Regions from separate parts of the Homo sapiens genome. Here region 1 is linked to region 2. Evidence: promoter capture Hi-C in human tissues and cell types (Jung and others, 2019). All regions are on one chromosome and are shown on one strand. Each heading gives the region's core, a stretch centred on a gene start or on the middle of the fragment in contact. The rest is flanking DNA. Distances are from core to core; before and after follow the strand shown. Region 1 has its middle 39 kb from the start of CTB-30L5.1. Region 2 holds the start of PIK3CG (phosphatidylinositol-4,5-bisphosphate 3-kinase catalytic subunit gamma).

Region 1 (6,759 bases), core at 2,330-4,829, 310 kb before region 2:
TTGAAGGCCTTTTCTGCATCTATTGAGATAATCATGTGGTTTTTGCCGATAGTTCTGTTTATGTGATGGATTACATTTATTGATTTGCATGTTGAACCAGCCTTTCATCCCAGGGATGAAGCTGACTTGATTGTGGTGGATAAGCTTTTTGATGTGCTACTGCATTCAGTTTGCCAGTATTTTATAGAGGATTTTCACATTGATGTTCATCAGGGATATTGGCCTAAAATTCTTTTTTGTTGTGTCTTTACCAGGCTTTGGTATCAGGATGATACTAGCCTAATAAAATGAGTTAGGCAGGATTCCCTCTTTTTCTATTGATTGAAATAGTTTTGGAAGGAATGGTACTAGCTCCTCTTTGTACCTCTGGTAGAATTGGGCTGTGAAACTGTCTGGTCCTGTTCCTTTTTTTGGTTGGTAGGCTATTAATTATTGCCTCAATTTCAGAACCTGTTATTGGTCTATTCAGAGATTCAAATTCTTCCTTGCTTAGTCTTGGGAGGGTGTATGTGTCAAGGAATTTATCCACTTCTTCTAGATTTTCTTGTTTATTTGCATAGAGGTGTTTATAGTATTCTCTCACGGTGGTATTTCTGTGGGATCAGTGGTGATAACCCCTTTATCATTTTTTATTGAATTTATTTTTCTCTCTTTTCTTTACTGGTCTTGCTAGTGGACTATCCATTTTGTTGATCTTTTCAGAAAACCAGCTTCTGGATTCATTGATTTTTTGAAGGGTTTTCTGTGTCTCTATCTCCTCCAGTTCTTCTCTGATCTTAGTTATTTCTTGCCTACTGCTAGCTTTTGAATTTGTTTGCTCTTGCTTCTCTAGTTCTTTTAATTGTGATGTTAGGGTGTCAATTTTAGATCTTTCCTGCTTTCTCTTGTGGGCATGTAGTGCTATAAATTTCCCTCTACACACTGCTTTAAATGTGTCCCAGAGATTCTGGTACATTGTGTCATTGTTCTCATTGGTTTCAAAGATCATCTTTATTTCTGCCTTCATTTTGTTATGTACCCAGTAGTCATTCAGGAGCAGGTTGTTCAGTTTCCATGTAGTTGTGCAGTTTTGAGTGAGTTTGTTAATCCTGAGTTCTAATTTGATTGCACTGTGGTCTGAGAGACAGTTTGCTGTGATTTCTTTTATATTTGCTGAGGAGTGTTTTACTACCAATTATGTGGTCAATTTTAGAATAAGTTCAATGTGGTGCTGAGAAGAATGTATATTCTGATGATTTGGGATGTAGAGTTCTGTACGTACCTATTAGGTCTGCTTTGTCCAGAGCAGAGTTCAAGTCCTGGATTTCCTTGTTAACCTTCTTTCTCATTGATCTACTAGTGACAGTGGAGTGTTAAAGGCTCCCATTATTATTGTGTGGGAGTCTAAGTCTCCTTGTAGGTCTCTAGGAACTTGCTTTATGAATCCGGGTGCTCCTGTATTGGGTACATATATATTTAGAATACTTAGCTCTTCTTGGTGAATTGATCCCTTTATCATTATGTAGTGGCCTTCTTGGTCTCTTTTGATCTTTGTTGGTTTAAAGTCTGTTTTATCAGAGACTAGGATTGCAACCCCTGCTTTTTTTTTTTAATTTTTTTTCACTTTCCATTTGCTTGGCAGATCTTCCTCCATCCCTTTATTTTGAGATTATGTACATCTTTGCACATGAGATTGGTCTCCTGAACACAGCACACTGATAGGTCTTGACTCTTTATCCAATTTGCGAGTCTTTGTCTTTCAACTGGGGCATTTAGCCCATTTACATTTAAGGTTAATATTGTTATGTTTGAATTTGATCCTATCATTATGATGTTAGCTGGTTATTTTGCCCATTAATTGATGCAGTTTCTTCATAGCAACGATGGTCTTTACCATTTGGCATGTTTTTGCAGTGGCTGGTACTGGTTATTCCTTTCTATGTTTAGTGCTTCCTTAAGGAGCTCTTGTAAGGCCGTCCTGGTGGTGACAAAAACTCTCAGCATTTGCTTGTCTGTAAAGGATTTTATTTCTCCTTCATTTATGAAGCTTAGTTTGGCTGGATATGAGATTCTGGGTTGAAAATTCCTTTCTTTAAGAATGCTAAATATTGGCCCCCAGTCTCTTCTGGCTTGTAGGGTTTCTGCCGAGAGATCCGCTGTTAGTGTGATGGATTTCCCTTTGTGGGTAACCTGACCTTTCTCTCTGGCTGTCCTTTTTTCCTTCATTCAAACTTGGTGAATCTGACAATTATGTGTCTTGGGGTTGCTCTTCTCAAGGAGTATCTTTGTGTTCTCTGTAATTTCCTGAATTTAATGTTGGCTTGCCTTGCTAGGTTAGGGAAGTTCTCCTGGATAATATCCTTAAGAGTGTTTTCCAGCTTGGTTCCATTCTCCCTGTCACTTTCCGGTACAGCAATCAAACGTAGATTTGGTCTTTTCACATAGTCCCATATTTCTTGGAGGCTTTGTTCGTTTATTTTCATGCTTTTTTTCTTTAATCTTGTCTTCTTGCTTTATTTCATTAATTTGATCTTCAATCACTGATCTTCCACTTGATTGAATTGGCTGTTGAAGCTTGTGCATGCGTCACAAAGTTCTCATGCTGTGGTTTTCAGCTCCATCAGGTCATTTAAGGTCTTCTCTACACTGTTTATTCTAGTTAGCCATTCGTCTAACCTTTTTTCAAGGTTTTTCATCTTCTTTGCGATGGGTTAGAACACACTCCTTTAGCTCAGAGAAGTTTGTTATTACCGACCTTCTGAAGCCTACTTCTGTCAACTCATCAGACTCATTCTCTGTCCAGTTTTGTTCCCTTGCTGGCAAGGAGCTGTGATCCTTTGGAGGAAAAGACCCTGTTTTTTGGAATTGTCAGTTTTTCTGCTCTAGTTTCTCCCCATCTTTGTGGTTTTATCTATCTTTGGTCTTTGATGTTGGTGACCTTCAGATGGGGTCTGTGAGTGCACATCTTTTTTGTTGATGTTGATGCGATTCATTTCTGTTTGTTAGTTTTCCTTCTAAGAGACCCCTCAGCTGCAGGTCTGTTGGAGTTTGCTGGAAGACCCTGTTTGCCTTGATATCACCAGTGGAGACTGCAGAACAGCAAATATTGCTGCCTGATCCTTCCTCTGGAAGCTTCATCCCAGAGGGGTACCCTCCTGTTTGAGGTGTCTGTCGGCTCCTACTGGGAGGTGTTTCCCAGTCAGGTTATACGGTAGTCAGGGACCCACTTGAGGCAGTCTATCTGTTCTTGGAGCTTGAACACCATGCTAAGAGAACCACTGCTCTCTTCAGAACTGTCAGACAGGGACGTTTAAGTCTGCAGAAGTTGTTTTCTGTCTTTTGTTCTACTATGCCCTGCCCCCAGAGATGGCATCTATAGAGGCAGTAGGCCTTGCTGAGCTGTGGTGGGCTCTACCCAGTTTGCACTTCCTGGCCTCTTTGTTTACACTGTGAGCTACTCAAGCCTCAGCAATGGTGGACGCCCCTCACTGCATCAAGCAGCAGCATCGCAGGTCGATCTCAGACTGCTGTGCTAGCAGTGAGCAAGGCTCTGTGGGCGTGGGACCCACCAAGTCAGGCACAGGAGGGTATCTCCTGGTCTGCAGGTTGCTAAGACTGTGGGAAAAGCACAGTATTTGGTCAGCAGTGTACTGTTTCTCCAGGTACAGTCTGTCACAGCTTCCCTTGGCTAGAAAAGGGAAATCCCTCCCCCAACCCCTTGTGCTTCCTGGGTGAGGTGATGCCCCATCCTGCTTCAGCTCGCCCTCCATGGGCTGCACCTACTGTTCAACCAGTCCCAACAAGATGAACCAGGTACCTCAGCTGGAAATGCAGAAATCACTCATCTTCCGCATCGATCTCCCTGGGAGCTGCAGACTGGAGCTGTTCCTATTCAGCCATCTTGGAAGCCATACTACGTTTTGGAAATTCGTGTTATTTTATACTGACAGTGCATCTCACTTTGGACTAGTCACCTTTCAAATGCTCAGTAGCCATGCCCTTTTTCACTTTAGCTGGCTGGCTGAGGTGAAGAAGGGCATGGTTGATTTTGTGGTCTATCAACAACTGCCATAATCTCAAGTGACTCACACAACTGGAAAAAAAAATGGCATTATGTGATATGTGACCCTCATTGCAATTATAGGCAGTGGCTACCATACTGGACAGCATAGAACCTATACCATTACCATTATAGGCTATTCCGAAGGTGGATAAAGGCAGCCATGAGGCCCAGGCTCATGTTCCAGAATCTGTGTCCAGCACAGGTGGCTTTGCCAGGCACACCAGGTAAGTTCTAGGCCAGTGCTTCTCACCCATTTTGAAGTGACACATTGATGTGCCACAATCAGTTCTGAGGTATGCTATAATGTGTTACTAATGGTTTAAGGTACCAACAATTGCAAATATTTAAAGAGGATATTCAACATTATTTATCTCATTCATTTGTATATTGACTTTCCTTTTAAGTGGGAGAGAAAGGGGTGCATTTATGGCCACTGTATGGGAAATTGTGTTTAACCCTTGCACATGACCATGGGGGTATCATCTGTGTGAACACTCATTCATATTTTGTTGCAGAAAAAAGTAGATAAGTACAAAGCTTTCCTAGGAAGTCTCCACACTTGTTTAATACCTTTACACAAGCAGGTTCTTGATGAATATGGGGCAAGCTGGAAAGACCCACTGAGTCATCTAAGCCCTGTTCTGCTGGCTTGCCCCATTTTACTATATTCTGCAATGAAATCACAATGTGCATTGAGCCTGATCCCCAACCTTTCTTCCTGCCAAAAGTGATGGAATTCTCCCTGTTCTTATGGGTACAAAAATTCTAGAAAGAAAGATAGTGGTGGATAGTGGTGCTTCAGATACTTTTTGGATAACATATTTTTTAACATTCAGACTTCTCCATGTCCTTTAATTCTATCTACTCAAAGTGTGGTCCTCAGACCAGAAGCACGAGCGTCATGTGAAAACTCTGTAGAAATGCAAAATTTCAGGTCCCAACCCAGACCTGCTGAATAAAAATATTCACTTTACTAGGATCGCTAGGAAATTCCTGAGCACATTCAAATTGAAAAGCAGTGTCTTAGCCACATTTCCTGGGTGCTCATCTCAGTTTCCTGTGATTTAGGCAGGCCTTTCCCTGGTGCCCATCTGAGTAATGGGCCTGTTTGAGCTATGTCTCTTCTAGAAATTGATATAGTTACCAGAGTATATAACAGGAACAGCACACAAACTTGGGAACCGCAATGGTTAACTTGGTATCAATTTGACTGGGAAATGGGTGCCCAGATTTGGCTCAACATTATTTCTAGGTGTGTCTGTGAGGGTGTTTCCAGAAGAGATGAATGTCTGAATAGGTAGACTGAGTAAACTGAGTAAAGCAAATGGCCCTCCCCAATGTGTGTGGGTATCATTCAATCTATTGAGGATCCAAATAGAACAAAAAGGTGAAGGAAGGAAGGGAGAATTCCCTCCCTCTGATGAACTGCTTGAGCTGGGACATCAGTCTTCTCTTGCCCTCAGACTGGGACTTACACAGTCAGCATTTCTGGTTCCCAGGCCTTCGGACTCAGACTGGAACTACCCCCTCAGGCCTTCCTGGGCCTCCAGCTTGCAGGCAGCAGATCCTGGGACTTAGCCTCCATTGATGGCGTGAGCCAATTCCTTATACTAAATCTCTTTCTAGATATATAAATATATCTTACTGGTCTGTGTGTCTCTAGAAAACCCTAATACAAGAACTATCTCCAGGCTAGAGATTGGTTGGTTCTCTTCATTCATCTCAAGCCTAAGGAAACATCCACATAGAAGTCTCAAGTTGTGGATAGATAGGCCAGCATTTACTGTACTCCCATCTTGGCTAAGGAATAGATCCTGAAAAACTCAGAGGGAAATTCAAGTGCCCTGGCACTTCCAAGCCAGTTTTGCAGCCTGCAGCATTTTGTACTTCTCCACGACTTGCTGACCACCCTCCAGGATCCTAAAGCACCCTTCATGTGTGTTCAGGTTTCTAACTGAACTCAAGACCCCTGAGACTGCTCCTGTTCATATTGACACACAGCTAGACAGTGGGCTACTGGGCTAAAAATGTGACAATTTCTCATTCGAAACCCAATTGAGCCTTTAATCCCAGCACTTTGGGAGGCTAAAGCAGGAGGATCACTTGAGCCCAGGAGGTCAAGGCTGAAGTGAGCTGTGATCATACCACTGCACTGCACTCCAGCCTGAGAGACAGAGTGAGACCTTGTCAAAAGGAAGGAAAGGAAGGGAGGGAGGGGAGAGAGGGGGGAGGGGAGGGAGGGAGTGAGGGAGGGGAGGGAGTGAGGGAGAGAGAGAGGGAGGAAAAGAGGAAGGAAGGAAGGAAGGAAGGAAGGAAGGAAAGAAGGCAGGCAGGCAGGCAGGCCAGCCGGCCTCAATTATTATTTGGAGTCCTCTGAAAGCTGAAGGGAGATAAAAGTCAATGGCACAAGAACACAAACTCACTCTTTTGGGGTAGAACCTGTGTGATAAGCACAGCTGCTGAAGTGACGCAAATCAGTTAAAGAAGGCAATCAGCCAGACCTCAAATCATCACATCTAGTGCTTAAAAGAGAGGACACAGAAAGTACAAAATCTTTCTTGTAGAATGATCAAATAGAAAATTGAAGAAAGTTATTTTAGATTTTTTTAGACATTTATTATTAGAAATAAACACCAATGTAATACTTGTCACAGGTAAAATCTATCCATGGATGCTAAAATTAATGGGTAAGAGTATAAGAAACAGAACGTTTAGAT
Region 2 (6,342 bases), core at 2,226-4,725:
GGTGTCCACCACTCTCTAGCCAGCCAGAACTCAGGGGACAAATTCTGATTAGCTTAAACCATTCACATAATTCTATCCCCTTTCCTATTGATTGGCTGAGGTATCAATGCGCCCTTGCCACAATTCTGGCCAGAGACATAAGGGGACCCAGAAGACCTTTGGGAAAGTCTTCCTCTCTCTGAAAAAGAAACACACAAGATGGCATGGACTCTTCTTCCTCTGTGTGTCGTGTTGGTGTTTGACACCTGGAATTCTGTACCTTCTAGAGTCATCTAACATAATATCTTACATAGTACGGTGAGATAAGTTTTTGTTCCATTGAAAACTGAAGATTTATAACAACTTCCTGTGAAATATGTAGGGTGGTTGTTATCATTTGGTAGATTAGGAAGCCAAAAGAAATGAAGGGGCATATATGAGGCCTAAAGAATGTGCAGAAATAAACCTAGGTCTCATGAATGTGTGTGTTTCTACAATACCAGGATGCTTCTCTTAAATCTTACCAAATACAGACCAAAAAATATCAGGCACAGCTTCATAAAGGTTTGCCTTTGTGCTCGGACAACAAAGCAAGGTATGAAGGTGAACTAAACTGTCAGATTAGATTAAAATGCCTTTTTGCATTTTTATCACAATGTATAAATCATCTGAAGCTGAGCTAAAAAAAAATATGACAAGATGATCATGTTTTTTCAAGATGAAAGATTCCCTCGAGTCTGAGTGACATAGCTACTCCAACAGTAAATAACCAATAACAGAGTTCCCAGCCAGTATGCCCAAAGCGGTGAGGTCCTTGGGGATGCACCCGTTGTCTCACGCTTTGAGGAGCTTCCTCAGTTCACCCCAGTGTGCCATACACATGTCACCACTATTTACATGTGGCAACACATGAAATACGTATGGGAAGCACACACTTGTCTGGCCATGTCTCTCCCTGTCTCTCACACTGCTATCTTTCTCAGACTCTCCATTTCAGTGAACTGATCTGTTCACTGTCCCACAGATGCCTTCTGGCTTGAGGACTTGCCCCTGTGATTCCTCTTGCCTTGAATCCTGGACCTTCCCCTGCACATTTAAAACAAAAATTTTCAAATCTCACCCAAAGTGAACTCCTCCAGTAAACTGTTGGCTTGCATAATGAAAGTTACATCACACAATTAAACCGCTTGGACTGCATATGCTAACGCATTGCACATGTTATTCTTTCCTCTGCATGTTCTGTCTCTCCAAGTAGACCATAAATAATCTCTCTGAAGGCTGTTGGAAAGAGCCTTCCTCAAAACAAATAATTTTTAATGTCTATTGATCACTGATACTTCCTACTGTGTTCTTATTTTCTAAACTGTTCTATCTTGTCATTGCTGTGACCACTGATATGATATAGAAGGTCAGAGCCTTTGATTGTGTTTTTTTTCCCAACCAAAATGATTTCTGTGTCCACAGATTCACAGAAGGGAAAAATATTATTAAAATGGGATATTAATGAGGACTGAAGGTCTTCTAAATATTCTGGGGATATAAAATATTCTTACTCGTAAAGGATGCCTCTACACGGAGGAAGTATCCACAGAGGAAGGAAATCTTTGCCATTACTTCTTACTGGGAACATTTACTACAGATAGTCAAATTTTAGTGGCTATATTAAGATTTGGGGAAGAGCAGGGTACTTTTAATCTCAAGCCACCAATAAACCTGACATATTTGCCAGTTTAGTCATAAAACAGAAAATCCTTTGCCTAATCAAACTTAGCTTAATAGTTCCTTCAGAAGCAGGCAGGGCCAAGAGGCTGAGTCTCGTGTTTCTGGAATAATGTGGCATGTGTGTGTGTATGTGCAGTGCCAGATTGGGACTTGGCCCCCTGGAAGTGACTGAGCCAGGACAGGGAAGGGATCTATTGAATGGTCTGGGGAACAGGGCTGGCCAAGCTCATGGTCCCTCTGAGGTCAGCCCTCCCACCCTCAAACCTCCTCCCACTCCACCCACCCCCAGGAACCCTCCCACACACTCTGGGTAAAACACAGCTTGGCAAGCTCTCACATCATGGCTTGGTGGCTACAGTGTGTTGATCTTCCCTCAGGACCAACCAAGAAAGCTAGCCTTGGTGCTTCTAAAGCTGCCAGCCTCCTAAGGGAGTATTCCTATATAGGAATATACTTTGAGAAGCTGATAAGACCCCTCTAAATATTTGGGAGGCAGCCTTTGAATTAAATTATTTGCCTGCTGATGTCAACTATTAGAGTGCTATTTAAAAGTTAAAACCCAAGAGGCATATGTAAAAGGAAATAAGTCAAATCAATCATTTATCTCAATATCAGAGTAATTCAGAGGAACTCTTAATTACATACCTCCAAGAGACTTGTGAGGTCAACTCCATTCTATCTGCTGCCCTTGAAGCTCAGCTGGAGTCCCTCAACACCCCGATTGGAGGATGAACTCTAGCATAGGGAATTCTGAGATGGAGGGAGGGGGCGCTGGTTCAGGATGCTTGGAGGTTCTAGAAAGAACTGAGGTCACCTGGAAGATACAACGCTACTCTAAAAATGATTCAGGATGGCTTTTCTATGCATTCTCTACTCCCATAGGAATCAGGGGCCACCTCCCAGGATGGAATCTGCCTGATGCTGTAACAGTGTTCAGCTCCCCAATTTCCCCATGATAACAGGCAACCTCCTTCTGTTTTGTCTACAGTTAATTAATCAGTCATTGCTGACAGTAAGGCTCCATCCTCAACACAGGATATTTTCTGAAGCATTAATTTTTGTTTCAATAGTTGATCCTTGTTTGGAATATAATGTGTTACAATGTAGTGGTACTTAGTATTAAAATCAAAATACCTTTTTATTCATCTTTCAATTTTAATACTTTTAGCATTTCAACCATTATTTGAAGGGTTACTTACTGCAGTATGTCACATTTATATACACACATGCACATGCTGCAGTGCTTTCAGTTTGAGCCAGTGATATTTTAGGCCCCAAATGCTCTGAAAAAATAGAGAAAGCTCTCACCAAGCTAAGGAAGTGAGCTTGCAGACCATGCCTTTAAAAATTTTCAGCTTGATAACTTAGTCCTCAAGATGACTAGGTTTCTCTTCCCCCACCCCTCAGTTAGCATGTGCGAACAAGGATTCTTTTGAATTCCCAGGAGGGGAATGAGTTTAATTTGACTGGTAAAAGTCTTCCTAATAGGATACCTAATACTGTGGCTCTTAGAACTAGCTACAAAGATATTTCATATGTTTATGTCTCATAATGGGTAATTTTGGTTTGGATTTATGTCATTTTGTCTCAGTATCACAATTTTTGAAAAATTAGTTCAAAGAGAAAAAAAAAAGAAAAGAAAAACCATGGTAAACATTGCTCAGTCTCATACTCCTACCCTCTCTATGCTAAAACAGGAAATGCATTTCTGACACTTTTAAAATGAGCAATCACACGTATAATCAACTTGGTTAAAACTTCCTTCCTGGTAACTGCAACACTTCCTCTGCATCTGGATATGAAGGGAGCCCCAGAAAAGCGGAAGAATTTAGACGCACACTGGGTAGGTTTGAATTTGTTTTGTTTTCAAAAATTAAACAAATGATCCTTCAGCATCATCGCCTCCGCTGCTTTATCAGGTATTGCTTCCTTCTATTTTTTGCTCTTTGTGGGGTCTGACTCGGAATAGTGGCACTTCCTTCTCGGCTAGATTATCTGAAACTGTTGTCGGTTCTTGAGATGATACTACCACCGAATGTCTGTGTTTCATTGTCTAGTCCAACCTGTATTGTGGATATCTACAACGTTCCGGCAATAGTTTTGCAGGTGCATCACATTTTTGTTTTTGTTTTGGGAGGAAAAGGGAGGGCACGGCAGCCAGGCTTCATATTCCTACAAGTGCATGCTTCAAGATTACTGTACTTACAGTGTTTCCAACATCTTCTCATAAAAGGGGAAAGCTTCATAGCCTCAACCATGAAGGAAACCAGTGAGTATTAGTCAGCCTGTTTTCCTCTGCATCTTATAAGATCGTTTGGTATCACTGAGGCAGAAGTTATTGCTGTGTATTTATATGCTGCCTAAATTTGGACATGTTTTATTTCAAGTTAGTGTCAATATCAATGTATCTTACAGTTCTCTTCTTTGTTAGTTATTCTATAATGTAGCAAAAGACCAAAATGAATGTTTTAAGCCACAAGAGACAGTTCTTTGGGACAGTTGGTTTCACTTACTAAGTATAACTTCATATTTTAAGAGAGGGAATATTGGTTTTAAAAGTTAAGCCAAGATTTGAACATAAGTTTGGATCAAATGAAATTTGTCTTTCTTATCTTCTTATCAAGCTCTCCTTTTTGGTATACATCAAATGCTCCACTATTTCTTAAGGAAATAATGTAGTTTTAAGTCTAACATTAGTTATTTAAGAGAGTAAACGATATTTTCTGAAACATTAATTTTTTGTTTCAATAATTGATTCGTTTAGAATATAATGTATTACAATGTAGTGATACTAAACATTGAAAGCAAAATACCTAATCTTTCAGTGTTAATACCTTTCAAATTTCAATTATTATTTGAAGGATTTCCTATTGCAGTATGTCCTATTTATACATAAGTGCTTTGTGAAGGGTAGGTACTTACTGAATTTTGTGGAAAGAGTGAGTAGGTTAATGAGAATAAATTTGTGAATTTGTGTTACAAAAATGAAAATATTAGAGCAAAAAAGAAGTTAAATGATTGGGGGTCTTAACAGAAGGTCACTGGAGTCCAGAAATCCTGCCTTCCATCCTGTAGCTCCTCCATTATTAAGTAGAGACAGATCAAATGAATTTTAATTAATTAATTAAACAATGTTAAAATTACCTAAATGTTCCTATTGGGAGAGTACAGCCTTGGGTGACTCTTCTAAGATACTGCCCTAATATAGCAGTGACAGCCAGAATGCTGACAAATTCCATGATTCAAAATTTTACATATCTGCAAATGGTTTTGACTGTAACTTTACTAATTCCGATATGTTTTAGCTTTACAAATGAAATGACTTGCTTTCCTAATTAGAAAGAAAAAATGAAACCAAGAGGCAGGAAATTTATTAGGGAGTAGATCCTAGGTCCAGGCAGTTTGAAAACAGGCAACGTGAAGCAAGGCTGGGTGAGGTGTCTGGGTTCCAAGAAGTGTGAGACTTAACAAAGAGGAAGTAAGTTAAAGGCCTGTTTTCAAAGTGAGATTTTTTGGCATCTCGTGTTGCACCTTGTAAACTGGGACTTGAACCTTAACTGTACTATTTTAGTAATCTATATGTTTCAGTATGTTTAAGAACAATGTCCATTCTGAGCCATTATAATGTGTCATGCGCTGTGCTGGATGAGTGTTTTACCTACCTCTTTAAAATTTTCAAAGTATACAAAAGTAGAACGACCAATAAGCCCCCATATACCTGTCACCCATATTGAACAAGTATTACTTTATTTAACTCTCCCTCTGGGGCATTCATTACTAACCAGTTTGAGAGATGAGAAACAGGCTCAGAGATTAAGCAGCCCAAATCACCCAGAAAGTAAGTGGCTGGGCCAGGACTCACCGGCCCGACTCCAAAGCCCACGCTCTGAAGGGCTGTAGTGCTTCCAGTTTAAAATACTTGGTCCCTCTGGGTCCCTGTGCACATGTACGCCGCCTATACCTCCTCTTCCCTCATCTCACCAGAAAATATAAGGGGAAAGTGCCTTTCTTGTGACAAATCCCTGTGTCCCTCCGCTCCCAGGTCGCATAGGGCATGGAGCTGGAGAACTATAAACAGCCCGTGGTGCTGAGAGAGGACAACTGCCGAAGGCGCCGGAGGATGAAGCCGCGCAGTGCTGCGGCCAGCCTGTCCTCCATGGAGCTCATCCCCATCGAGTTCGTGCTGCCCACCAGCCAGCGCAAATGCAAGAGCCCCGAAACGGCGCTGCTGCACGTGGCCGGCCACGGCAACGTGGAGCAGATGAAGGCCCAGGTGTGGCTGCGAGCGCTGGAGACCAGCGTGGCGGCGGACTTCTACCACCGGCTGGGACCGCATCACTTCCTCCTGCTCTATCAGAAGAAGGGGCAGTGGTACGAGATCTACGACAAGTACCAGGTGGTGCAGACTCTGGACTGCCTGCGCTACTGGAAGGCCACGCACCGGAGCCCGGGCCAGATCCACCTGGTGCAGCGGCACCCGCCCTCCGAGGAGTCCCAAGCCTTCCAGCGGCAGCTCACGGCGCTGATTGGCTATGACGTCACTGACGTCAGCAACGTGCACGACGATGAGCTGGAGTTCACGCGCCGTGGCTTGGTGACCCCGCGCATGGCGGAGGTGGCCAGCCGCGACCCCAAGCTCTA

Evidence for each region. Contacts are between HindIII fragments. The study calls those that stand out against the background at their distance.
Region 1: a fragment that was not itself captured here is called in contact with the fragment with the promoter of PIK3CG in region 2 in 1 of the 25 tissues and cell types used here (bladder).

The regions. Positions count from the first base shown.
Region 1 is chr7:106,556,693-106,563,451 of GRCh38, forward strand. No RefSeq gene overlaps it. Among named protein-coding and RNA genes, the nearest start is that of CTB-30L5.1, 39 kb to the right of the region's middle. The HindIII fragment of the contact is 4,989 bases long and covers 1,086-6,074 here.
Region 2 is chr7:106,861,807-106,868,148 of GRCh38, forward strand. PIK3CG (phosphatidylinositol-4,5-bisphosphate 3-kinase catalytic subunit gamma) reads left to right here and starts at 3,476. Exons shown (of 11, transcript NM_001282426.2): 1 at 3,476-3,620; 2 at 5,744-6,342. The coding sequence starts at 5,756. RefSeq lists a silencer at 758-1,052 and an enhancer at 3,548-3,647. The HindIII fragment of the contact is 7,545 bases long and covers 1-5,591 here.